Linked DNA regions of Homo sapiens: region 1 is linked to region 2. Evidence: promoter capture Hi-C in human tissues and cell types (Jung and others, 2019). All regions are on one chromosome and are shown on one strand. The core of a region is centred on a gene start or on the middle of the fragment in contact, and the rest is flanking DNA. Distances in the headings are between cores, read along the strand shown. Region 1 overlaps ST6GALNAC1 (ST6 N-acetylgalactosaminide alpha-2,6-sialyltransferase 1). Region 2 holds the start of TMEM235 (transmembrane protein 235).

Region 1 (4,829 bases), core at 17-2,516, 1.6 Mb before region 2:
TTGCCCTCATTTTATCTCAGGCCCCCTGGCTGGGTGAGCTTTCCTCTTCCAGGTTACATGTTTGGTTCCCACAGCTTTGATGCTGCTTCTCCTTGAAAGGAGGACAAACTAACACTTCGCTCTGCCCTGTGTCCCTCTCCACTCCCTGCTGTGGAGCTCTCTACCTTGAACTGCTCCTGCCTCCTGTGCCCCACATTGTTAGCTGGGCCTGGAGTTCCCAAGACCCCCTTGGTGTCCACGAGGGCTATTCCAGCCTCCTTTTGGTATTTGATCAGTTCTTCGGGGTCTCCTGTCTTATGTGAGATAGAAACCAGCCATTCTGCTTTTTCTTTTCCAACTCTAAAGTTGGCCAGGCGTGGTGCCTCACGCCTGTAATCCCAGCACTTTGGGAGGCCGGGGGTGGGGGTGGGGGGTGGATCACCTGAGGTCAGGAGTTCGAGACCAGCCTGGCCAACATGGTGAAACCCCATCTCTATTAAAAATACAAAAATTAGCTGGGCATGGTGGTGCATGCCTGTAATCCCAGCTACTTGGGAGGCTGAGGCAGGAGAATCGCTTGAACTCGGGAGGCAGAGGTTGCAGTGAGCTGAGATCGTACCACTGCACTCCAGCCTGAGTGATACAGCAAGACTCTGTCTCAAAAAAAACAAAAACAAAAAACAAACTCCAAAGTTTATCTTCCTTGGAAAATCCTGAAAGTTTTCTAAAAGTGAATGAATGCTTTATTTTTACGACTTTACTTTGACTTTAGATGTGTCTATACGCTGCTTCCATGACTAAAAGCTGTATGATTGCCTTAATTATCTTTGTATGCTGGAAAAAAATGGCAGAAATCCATTTTCTCTTGTTATTCTGAGTGTTCTTTTCTCAAATCAAAGCCTGTGTGGTGGTTTTCAGCCACCTCAATCTTAGTGGGGAGATTCTAGTGGGGATGTTATTATGTTCTGGGACTCGAGAGAAAACAGAAGGAAAATGAGTCAGTTGCTGCTCATCATACTTCAGTGGCTGGATACAGCTTCCAGAGCTCCCCCTGAACAGACAGGTCCCCAGCATTCTCAGAGATGCCCTTCGCCTAGCTGAATTCACTGTGGGCCAGAATGCCAGTCAGCTGGTTTGAAAGTTAGATGTCCTACGCCTGTAATCCCAGCACTTTGGGAGGCTGAAGCAGGCGGATCACTTGAGGTCAGGAATTCGAGACCAGCCTGGCCAACATGGCGAAACCCTGTCTCTACTAAAAATACAAACGGCTGGGTGTGGTGGTGCACGCCTGTAATCCCAGCTACTCTGGAGGCTGAGGCAGGAGAATTGTTTGAGCCTGCGAGGTGGAGGTTGCAGTGAGCAGGGATCGCATCACTGCACTCCAGTCTGGGCAGCAAAGAGAGACTCTGTCTCAAAACAACAACAACAATAACAACAACAAACCAACTAAATGAGACATCTTATGGAAAGTTCTACGAGAACTTGACAACACAATGCAATGTTTATTCTGCAATATTCATTGAGTAGCCATGACATGACAGGCATTCAGAGGTATCTGCTAGAGATTAAAGATAAAAAAAGCAATGGTCACTGGTTTTAAGAGGCTCACAGTCTATAAGAGAAACAGACATGAGTATAAGCAGCTGCCTTAAAGTGTCATCGGTATGATATTAGTCATACGTGTGCGAGGCAGTGGTGACAGCCTAGGGAGGCAGTTCTGCTCGGGGGGATACTTTGGTATGTAGGGGTTACCTAAGCTGAGTCTTTTTCTCCTGAGTCTTCAGAAGTGAACTTTTATGAATTATTTTTATTTTTATAAAAGCAATGTGTGCTTATTACGGAAAAAGCAGAAACTGCCTTAAAACATGAAAGGATAGCAACCTCCTATTATCCCAGTCCCTTCAAAGAATCTACTGTTAGTACCTCAGGGCATGAACAGCCGCATCCCTTTTCTACGCCTGTCATGCTTTTGAATACAATTATATACTATTTTGAAATGTTATTTGTTTCCCTCTCCACCCCACCCCCATACCTCCAGCAGTTAAGATTTGGTTTCATGTTCAAGATGTAGTGAAACAGATCAATCTTGGAGAAGTTATGAGGGGGAAGGACTTTACTACTTCTTACCATCATTGTCCTTCCCCTGGAAAGATCCTTTACTCTGGTGGGTGGCGGAAATGAGAGAAGGAGGGATCTGTGAGTTCCAAGGTCAGAGGACCCTGCTTCCTGGCAGTGTTCCAAAGGTCTAACAAGACCCCTGGAAAAAAAAAGAATCCTGAGCCTAGGAAGACAGGACCACAGACAGTGTCAGAAAAGTCTCACACGGAGCTGAGATCACGCCACTGCACTCCAGCCTGGATGGCAAAACGAGACTCCGTTTCAAAAAAAGAAAAGTCCTCCCGCCCGGCCAGCCTCCCCGTCCGGGAGGTGGGGGTAGCCCCCACCCAGCCGCCGCCCCGTCTGGGAGGTCGGGGGCGCCTCTGACCGCCGCCCCGTCTGGGAAGTGAGGAGCCCCTCTGCCCGGCCGCCACCCCATCTGGGAGGTGTACCCAACAGCTCATTGAGAACGGGCCATGATGACGATGGCGGTTTTGTCGAATAGAAAAGGGGGAAATGTGGGGAAAAGAAAGAGAGATCAGATTGTTACTGTGTCTGTGTAGAAAGAAGTAGACATAGGAGACTCCATTTTGTTCTGTACTAAGAAAAATTCTTCTGCCTTGGGATCCTGTTGATCTATGACCTTACCCCCAACCCCGTGCTCTCTGAAACATGTGCTGTGTCCACTCAGGGTTGAATGGATTAAGGGCGGTGCAAGATGTGCTTTGTTAAACAGATGCTTGAAGGCAGCATGCTCGTTAAGAGTCATCACCACTCCCTAATCTCAAGTTCCCAGGGACACAAACACTGCGGAAGGCCGCAGGGCCCTCTGCCTAGGAAAACCAGAGACCTTTGTTCACATGTTTATCTGCTGACCTTCCCTCCACTATTGTCCTATGACCCTGCCAAATCCCCCTCTCCGAGAAACACCCAAGAATGATCAATAAATACTAAAAAAAAAAAAAAAAAAAAAAAAAGATTCCCATCACACCCTAAACCTAAAAGGTTTAGGATAAATAAAGATGTGAATTAAAAAAAAAAAAAAAAGACATAGAACAGTCACCACAAGGGTCCCTCATGTTGTCCTTTTATAGCCACAGCCACTTTCTTCCTACACCACCCCCTCCTCAACCCCTAGAAACACCACTCATCTGTTCTGTATTTTTATAATTTTATCATTTCAAGAATGTTATTTGAATGCAATCATACAATTATGTAAGCTTTTGGTACTGGCTTTTCAAAAAAACAGAACAAAAAAAACCCAAAAAAAGTCTCTCACACATAAGCCAGGTGGACCTGAAAGAGCCAAGGGGCAGGAACAATGGCTGTTTCAGCAGCTACTCAATAGCGAAGGGTCAGCGTCCCACTCCCATGCCTTGGCACCGCATCAGATGTCCTGGAGCCCTTGATACCATCCTGCAGAGGGGCAAGAAGAGCTGAGATTAAGTTTTCCTGAAGCTTGGTGGATGGGAGTTCAGAATCAGAAATCAGGAGGTGATAGAAAATAAAGTTCTGTTCTTTTCTTTTTGGACACAGAGTCTCACTCTGTCGTCCAGGCTAGAGTGCAGTGGCATGATCTCGGCTCACTGGAAGCCAGTGCCCAGGTTCAAGCGATTCTTGTGCCTCAACCCCCTGAGTAGCTGGGATTACATGCATGTGCCACCGTGCCCGGCTAATTTTCATATTTTTAGTAGAGATGGAATTTTGCCATGCTGGCCAGGCTGGAGAACATAAAGTGACAACAAGAAAATGACAAACAGAACCCATAGGTCTGTTTTTACAGCTCACTCTTTTTTTTTTTTTTTTTTAATGGAACGCTTTACGAATTTGCACGTCATCCTTGTGCAGGGGCCATGCTACACAGCTCACTCTTAATTACCATCTCTAAAGCTAAAACAAGCATAGATCTTCCAAAACATATTTATACCAGACTATGGAAGCCAAGCAGAGACATAGTCTTAGATGACATCTACACATCACTGAACAAATGATGCACGTGGGTGCGTCTTAAGATGATATGAGAGATGGCCCGATGGGTTTGAAATCATAGAATTGTATTTTTTATTTTTTTTTTGAGACAGAGTCTTGCTGTGTCACCCAGGCTGGAGTGCAGTAGAGCAATCTTAGCTCACTGCAACCTCTGCCTCCCGAGTTCAAGCGATTCTCCTGTGATAAAAGCGATAATACTCAGCCTCCTGAGTAGCTGGGATTACAGGCAACCGCCACCACGCCTGGCTAACTTTTGTATTTTTATTTATTGATTATTATTATTTTTCTGAGACGGAGTTTCACTCTTGCTGCCCAGGCTGGAGTACTGTGGCATGCTCTCGGCTCACAGCAAGCTCTGCCTCCCGGATTCAGGCAATTCTCCCTGCCTCAGCCTCCCAAGTAGCTGGAATTACAGGCACCGGACCATGCCCGGCTAATTTTTGTATTTTTTAGGAGAGACAGGGTTTCACCATGTTAGTCAGGCTGGTCTCGAACTCCTGACCTCAGGTGATCTGCCCACCTCGGTCTCCCAAAGTGCTGGGATTTAGGCGTGAGCCACTGTGCCTGGCCTCAGAATTGTCTTGAAGTTCTTCTGCTACACTCCTCCCACCATCCTATTTGTTGCCAAGTCCAGCTGATCTGACTTCTTCTCAGTCCTTTCTTCCTGTTCAAACTGTCCTCGCTCACGGTCTCATTAATGCTATCCTAAACCGTTGCAATGGTCTCTAAACTATCCCCTCTAAAACCACGTTCCCCCGATCATC
Region 2 (4,965 bases), core at 961-3,460:
CCCAGCTAATTTTTGTATTTTTAGTAGAGACGGGGTTTCAGTATATTGGCCAGGCTGGTCTCGAACTCCTGACCTCATGATCCACCCGTCTCAGCCTCCCAAAGTGCTGGGATTACAGGCGTGAGCCACTGCACCTGGCCAAAACCTCCTCCTAGATAACAGTGGCGTTAAGCATTTTTTTTTTTTTTGAGATGGAGTCTTGCTCTGTTGCCCAGGCTGGAGTGCAGTGGTGTGATCTCAGTTCACTGCAACCTCTGCCTCCCGGGTTCAAGTGATTCTTCTGCCTCAGGCTCCTGAGTAGCTGGGATAACAGGCATGAGCCACCACTCCCAGCTAATTTTTGTATTTTTAGTAGAGACAGGGTTTTGCCATGTTGGCCAGGCTGGTCTGGAACTCCTGACCTCAAGTGATCCTCCCACCTCGGCCTCCCAAAGTGCTGAGATTACAGGCGTGAGCCACTGCACCTGGCCTTTTTTTGTTTTTTAAGACAGGGTCTCACTCTGTTGATCACAGCCACAGCTCACTGCAGCCTCAACCTCCTGCCTGGGTTCAAGCAATCCTCCCACCTTGGCCTCCCAGGTAGCTGAGACCACAGGCACAAGCCACCATATCTGGCCCTACGTAAGCTTTATGTGGGTGCAATAACAGATCTCAAACCAGCTCTCAGCTCAAGAGAAGGGGAAGCTGGGCACAGTGGCTCACGCCTATAATCCCAGCACTTTGGGAAGCCGAGGCAGGAGGATCACTTGAACCCAGGAGTTCGAGACCAGCCTGGGCAACATAGGGAGACCCCTGCCCTCCCTGTCTCTGAAAAAAAAAAAAAAAAAAAAAGAAAGGAGAGGCTGGGCTTGGTGGCTCACACCTGTAATCCCAGCACTTTGGGAAGCCCAGGCAGGAGGATCACTTGAACCCTGGAGTTTGAGTCCAGCCTGGGCAACATAGGGAGACCTTGTCTCTAAAAAAATAAATAGAGTGAGAGAGAGAAGGGGAAGTCACCGGGAGGACACACATGGAGCACGCAGCCCAAATGGGGCTCCTCTGTTCTCCCTGCAGAGTCAGTTCGTACCTTTCACATGCACAAAGGTGTTGATCCAACCGAAGCAATATTGATTCTTGTTATATTGCTTTATTGTGGGGTCAGTGTCAGAGTACCACGAGTTTTCATCACGCACCGTTCTTTCCCCAGCTGCAGTGTGTTTAGGGGGGGAACGAGGCCCCACCCCCTATCCCTATCGCCTCTGCCTTTATAACGGCTGCTACTCTCTGAGCACCTGTTGAGTTCTTTCACCTTCCAGATCTAATGTGCTATCCCCACCCCTAGAGAACAGGGCTGCTGGATGCCACATGGCTCCCAGAGAGGGGCTGTGGTCAGGGAAGCCCCAGCTCCAAGGGGGCTGGAAAACCCCAGAGCTGCCCACGTGCGGCAACACAGTCTGGTGCTGCAGGTGTGAGGACGGCTACAAAATACCTGAGCCATTCTGTCACTCTGTCTGAACTCTGTTTGAAATATTGTTTCAATAACTGCTAGGCTGGTTTTTCCTTCCTGACTATATTCCTCAAACCAACAAGAGCCTAGCAGAGGAAAGCATGGCCAAAACGCCCCAAGAAGAGAGCCTTGGCTTCACCTCCAAGGGCCACCATCCGGGAGGATGTCCTCAGACCTCTGATCCCCTCTCTGCAGGCTCTGCCCAGCCCTGTGTGGCAACCCAGAGGAAGCCTCCCCTTCGTTTGAGATTTAACCCCAGACCTTAGGCGATGGCTGCCCAGCCTGTCCCTTCCGCCTGTGTGGCTGCCCACGCGGGCGTTGCTCATGGGGCTAGTCCTGGGTGGATGGGTGGGGGCCTCTCGCCGGCTCCTCTGCCTCCCACCCCCACTGGCACCCCACGCCTGTCCTAGAAGGTTCTTTCTGCCTGTTTTCTCCGTGAGTGACTGGACAGGCAGAGGCCGGCCTTGCTGGAGGGGGCATTTGTAATTATGAGTGAATCCAAAACAAGGTTTTTTCCTTCCGCAGCCCCCCGCCCGGCTGTGGGGCCCAGCCACTGCACTTCACCGGATGCCGTCTGGTTGGTCCTCAGGACTGATACAGACCAGGACCCCAGGGCCAGCCCGTGCCAGGCTCCTATGCTTCCAGGAGCACGGGTGGGTGGTCCTGCTGCCTGGCCGGCCATCCTCCTGGGGTCGGTCTCTGGCCGATCCTCCCTCCTCCTCTCAAGCCCTGCACAGCCCGGCCAGGCAGGTGCATCTTGTTTGGCTGCTGAGGAGCCGGGGGTTCAGGGAAATTAAGGAACGTGCCCAGGGACCCGGGGCCAGCCCGTGGGGACGCTGGGATTGGAGCCCAAGCCCCAGGTTCGCCGCGCGGCTCTCGACTTCCTCTCCTTTCCCCCAGGGGCGAGCTCAGCGACCGCAGAGAGGTGGGGTCGATCTCCCTGCGACCCCAGGGGGCCCGCGAGGCCAGTGCGCGGGCAGGAGCGGGGACGTGCTCAGAAGAGCCGGGCGCCGCCGCGCCCGCCCGCCCCCCGTCCCCCGGCTCCCGGCTCCGCGCGCCCCCCGCCGCCCCCGGGGCCCTGCTACCCCCGACCCGTCCCCTCCCGCCGGCCGCCCCCATGGCCCGGCTGGGCGCGCTGCTCCTGGCCGCCGCCCTGGGTGCACTGCTCAGCTTCGCGCTCCTGGCCGCCGCGGTCGCCAGCGACTACTGGTACATCCTGGAGGTGGCGGACGCCGGCAATGGCAGCGCCTGGCCCGGGCGCGCAGAGCTGCTCTCCTCGCACTCGGGGCTCTGGCGCATCTGCGAAGGTAACCGGCCACCGCGCCGGCCCTCCTCCCTCCGCGACCTCGTCCCTCCGACACCCCCTTAACCCCGCCCTGCTCGTGTTGCCCCGCCAGACCCCCTTCCAGGACCCCTCTCTTGCATCCCGCTCTGCCCCAGGGTGTCTCTCCGCTCCCTCCCCATCACCCTCCGTCTTCCCCCAAAACTGACAGCCCAAGGGCTACAGGAGGGAGGGAGCCCAGTTCGGGGCCCCTCACAGCCGGAGGAGGGGGCTGTGGGGCGACAGTGGGGGAGGGAAGCCTAGAGGTGTGTAGTTGGGGGGCCTCATCCAAGTCACCAGGGGTTGTTTCTTGATCACGCTCCCCGGGGTTTGGGCCTGGCAGCCCCTTGTCCCCGTCCCTGTCAGGCACTGTCAGAGCTGTTCACCCCACACCTCCTGATGCCGCGGGGGCAGGGGTTCCAAATGTGTACAGAGGCTTCAGAGTCCGGGGAGAGAGAAGGGGATCCCAGCAGGCTGGAGGGTCCACAGGGCCCCCTCCGTTCCCCCCAGCTCCCTCCTCCGGAGCTGGGGCCAGCCTGGGGAGCTTCCCCTTCACAGCGCGAGGGCTGGCAGGGCAGGGGTGTGTGTGTGAGTGAGCATGTGTGTGCATCTGAATATGTGTGCATGTGCTGAACATGAACATGTGTGAGCACCTGGCTGTGTATGTAAATATGAATATGTGAGTGTGAGTGTATGTAGTTGTGTGTGCATGTGAATATGAGTGTGTGAGCATGTCAGTGTGCATGTGTGTGCATGTGAGAGTGTGTGGGCATGTATATGAGTGAGTGCATGTGTGGGTGGTGCACATGTGCTGGTGGCTTCCTCAGTGCAACTGGGGAGGAGTTAGGAGCCTTGTGTTCATCCAACAGACTGCCTAACTGTGCTCCAAAGACCTCCTGACATGCACCTGTGTGCACGTGTGCACACGCCTGTGCCTATGCAGGTGGCTCTGCACGCGTGTGAGAACCAGAGAGTATGTATGCCCACATGACACGAGTCAGGAAGATTCCAGAGCGAGGCTTCCCAGGAGCCCGTTTTGTACACCCTTTTTCCTTTCAGGCAAAGCCTGAGTTCCACACACAAACGCATTACAAGGACCCCTGCCTGAGGGACTCTGAGGGGGCCTCCATGGAGCGTTTGAAAGTTTAAACATGCACCTGTGCAGGCATAACTTGCACGTGAAAATAAACAAGGTGAAGGCTGGGCCCGGTGGCCCACGCCTGTAATCCCAGCACTTTGGGAGGCCGAGGCGGGTGGATCACGAGGTCAGGAGATCGAGACCACAGTGAAACCCCGTCTCTACTAAAAATACAAAAAATTAGCCGGGCACGGTGGCGGGTGCCTGTAGTCCCAGCTACTTGGGAGGCTGAGGCAGGAGAATGGCGCGAAACCGGGAGGCGGAGCTTGCAGTGAACCGAGATCGCGCCACTGCACTCCAGCCTGGGGTGACAGAGCGAGACTCCATCTCAAAAAAAAAAAAAAGAAAAAGAAAATAAACAAGGCTAAAGGTCTTGGGCCTTTTCATCCCACTTGGAGTCCCAGCCCTGAGTTTCAGCAGAAGAGAAGCTGGCAGGGCCCTGTGGTGCCAGGGGGTCCCCTGGGCTCGGGTAGGCTGCTGGGTGCACCACAGCGTCCAGGCCCCAGGCTTCGAGGCCTATGTTTCCCAGGGCAGAACGGCTGCATCCCGCTGGTCGACCCTTTTGCCAGTGAGAGCCTGGACGTCTCCACCTCGGTGCAGCACCTCATCTGTGAGTCCTGGGTGGGGCCACCTCCCCATCCTTTCCAAATATTCAGGCAAGGCAGATCCCAGCCATCCCCATCCCCATCCCGCAGCACTGCTTCCACTGCCCCTGCGTTTCCAAGAGGACGTTTCCACGCAGACCTGTCCCAGTGCTGTGCTGCTGTCCCTAACCACAGGTGCCCAGCTCCCAGCCTATCCTGTTTTCCCCTGTCTCAGTTTCCCTCTCAGTGGTGATGGCTCATCCCTTTGTTATTGGGGAAGCCAGGCAGCTCCCAGCTTGGCTGGATCCTGCGGGCCTTGCAGACTCCTGGCTCCCCATTTAGGACTCGATTCTTCCAGATGGCCTGCTGTCTACCTGGCTGGCACCTTCCACCTGGCGGGTTGGGGGACATGTGAGGCCTGGGGATGGGGGCTGGG

What was found. The method cuts DNA at HindIII sites, captures the fragments that hold promoters and counts their contacts. A contact is called where the count stands out against the background at its distance.
Region 1: a contact is called between a fragment that was not itself captured here and the fragment with the promoter of TMEM235 in region 2, in 1 of the 25 tissues and cell types used here (aorta).

What each region holds. Positions count from the first base shown.
Region 1 is chr17:76,634,245-76,639,073 of GRCh38, forward strand. The region is part of intron 1 of ST6GALNAC1 (ST6 N-acetylgalactosaminide alpha-2,6-sialyltransferase 1); the gene reads right to left. Among named protein-coding and RNA genes, the nearest start is that of ST6GALNAC1, 7.1 kb to the right of the region's middle. The HindIII fragment of the contact is 7,403 bases long and covers 1-4,829 here.
Region 2 is chr17:78,229,421-78,234,385 of GRCh38, forward strand. TMEM235 (transmembrane protein 235) reads left to right here and starts at 2,211. Exons shown (of 5, transcript NM_001395503.1): 1 at 2,211-2,793; 2 at 4,475-4,555. The coding sequence starts at 2,604. The HindIII fragment of the contact is 13,022 bases long and covers 1-4,965 here.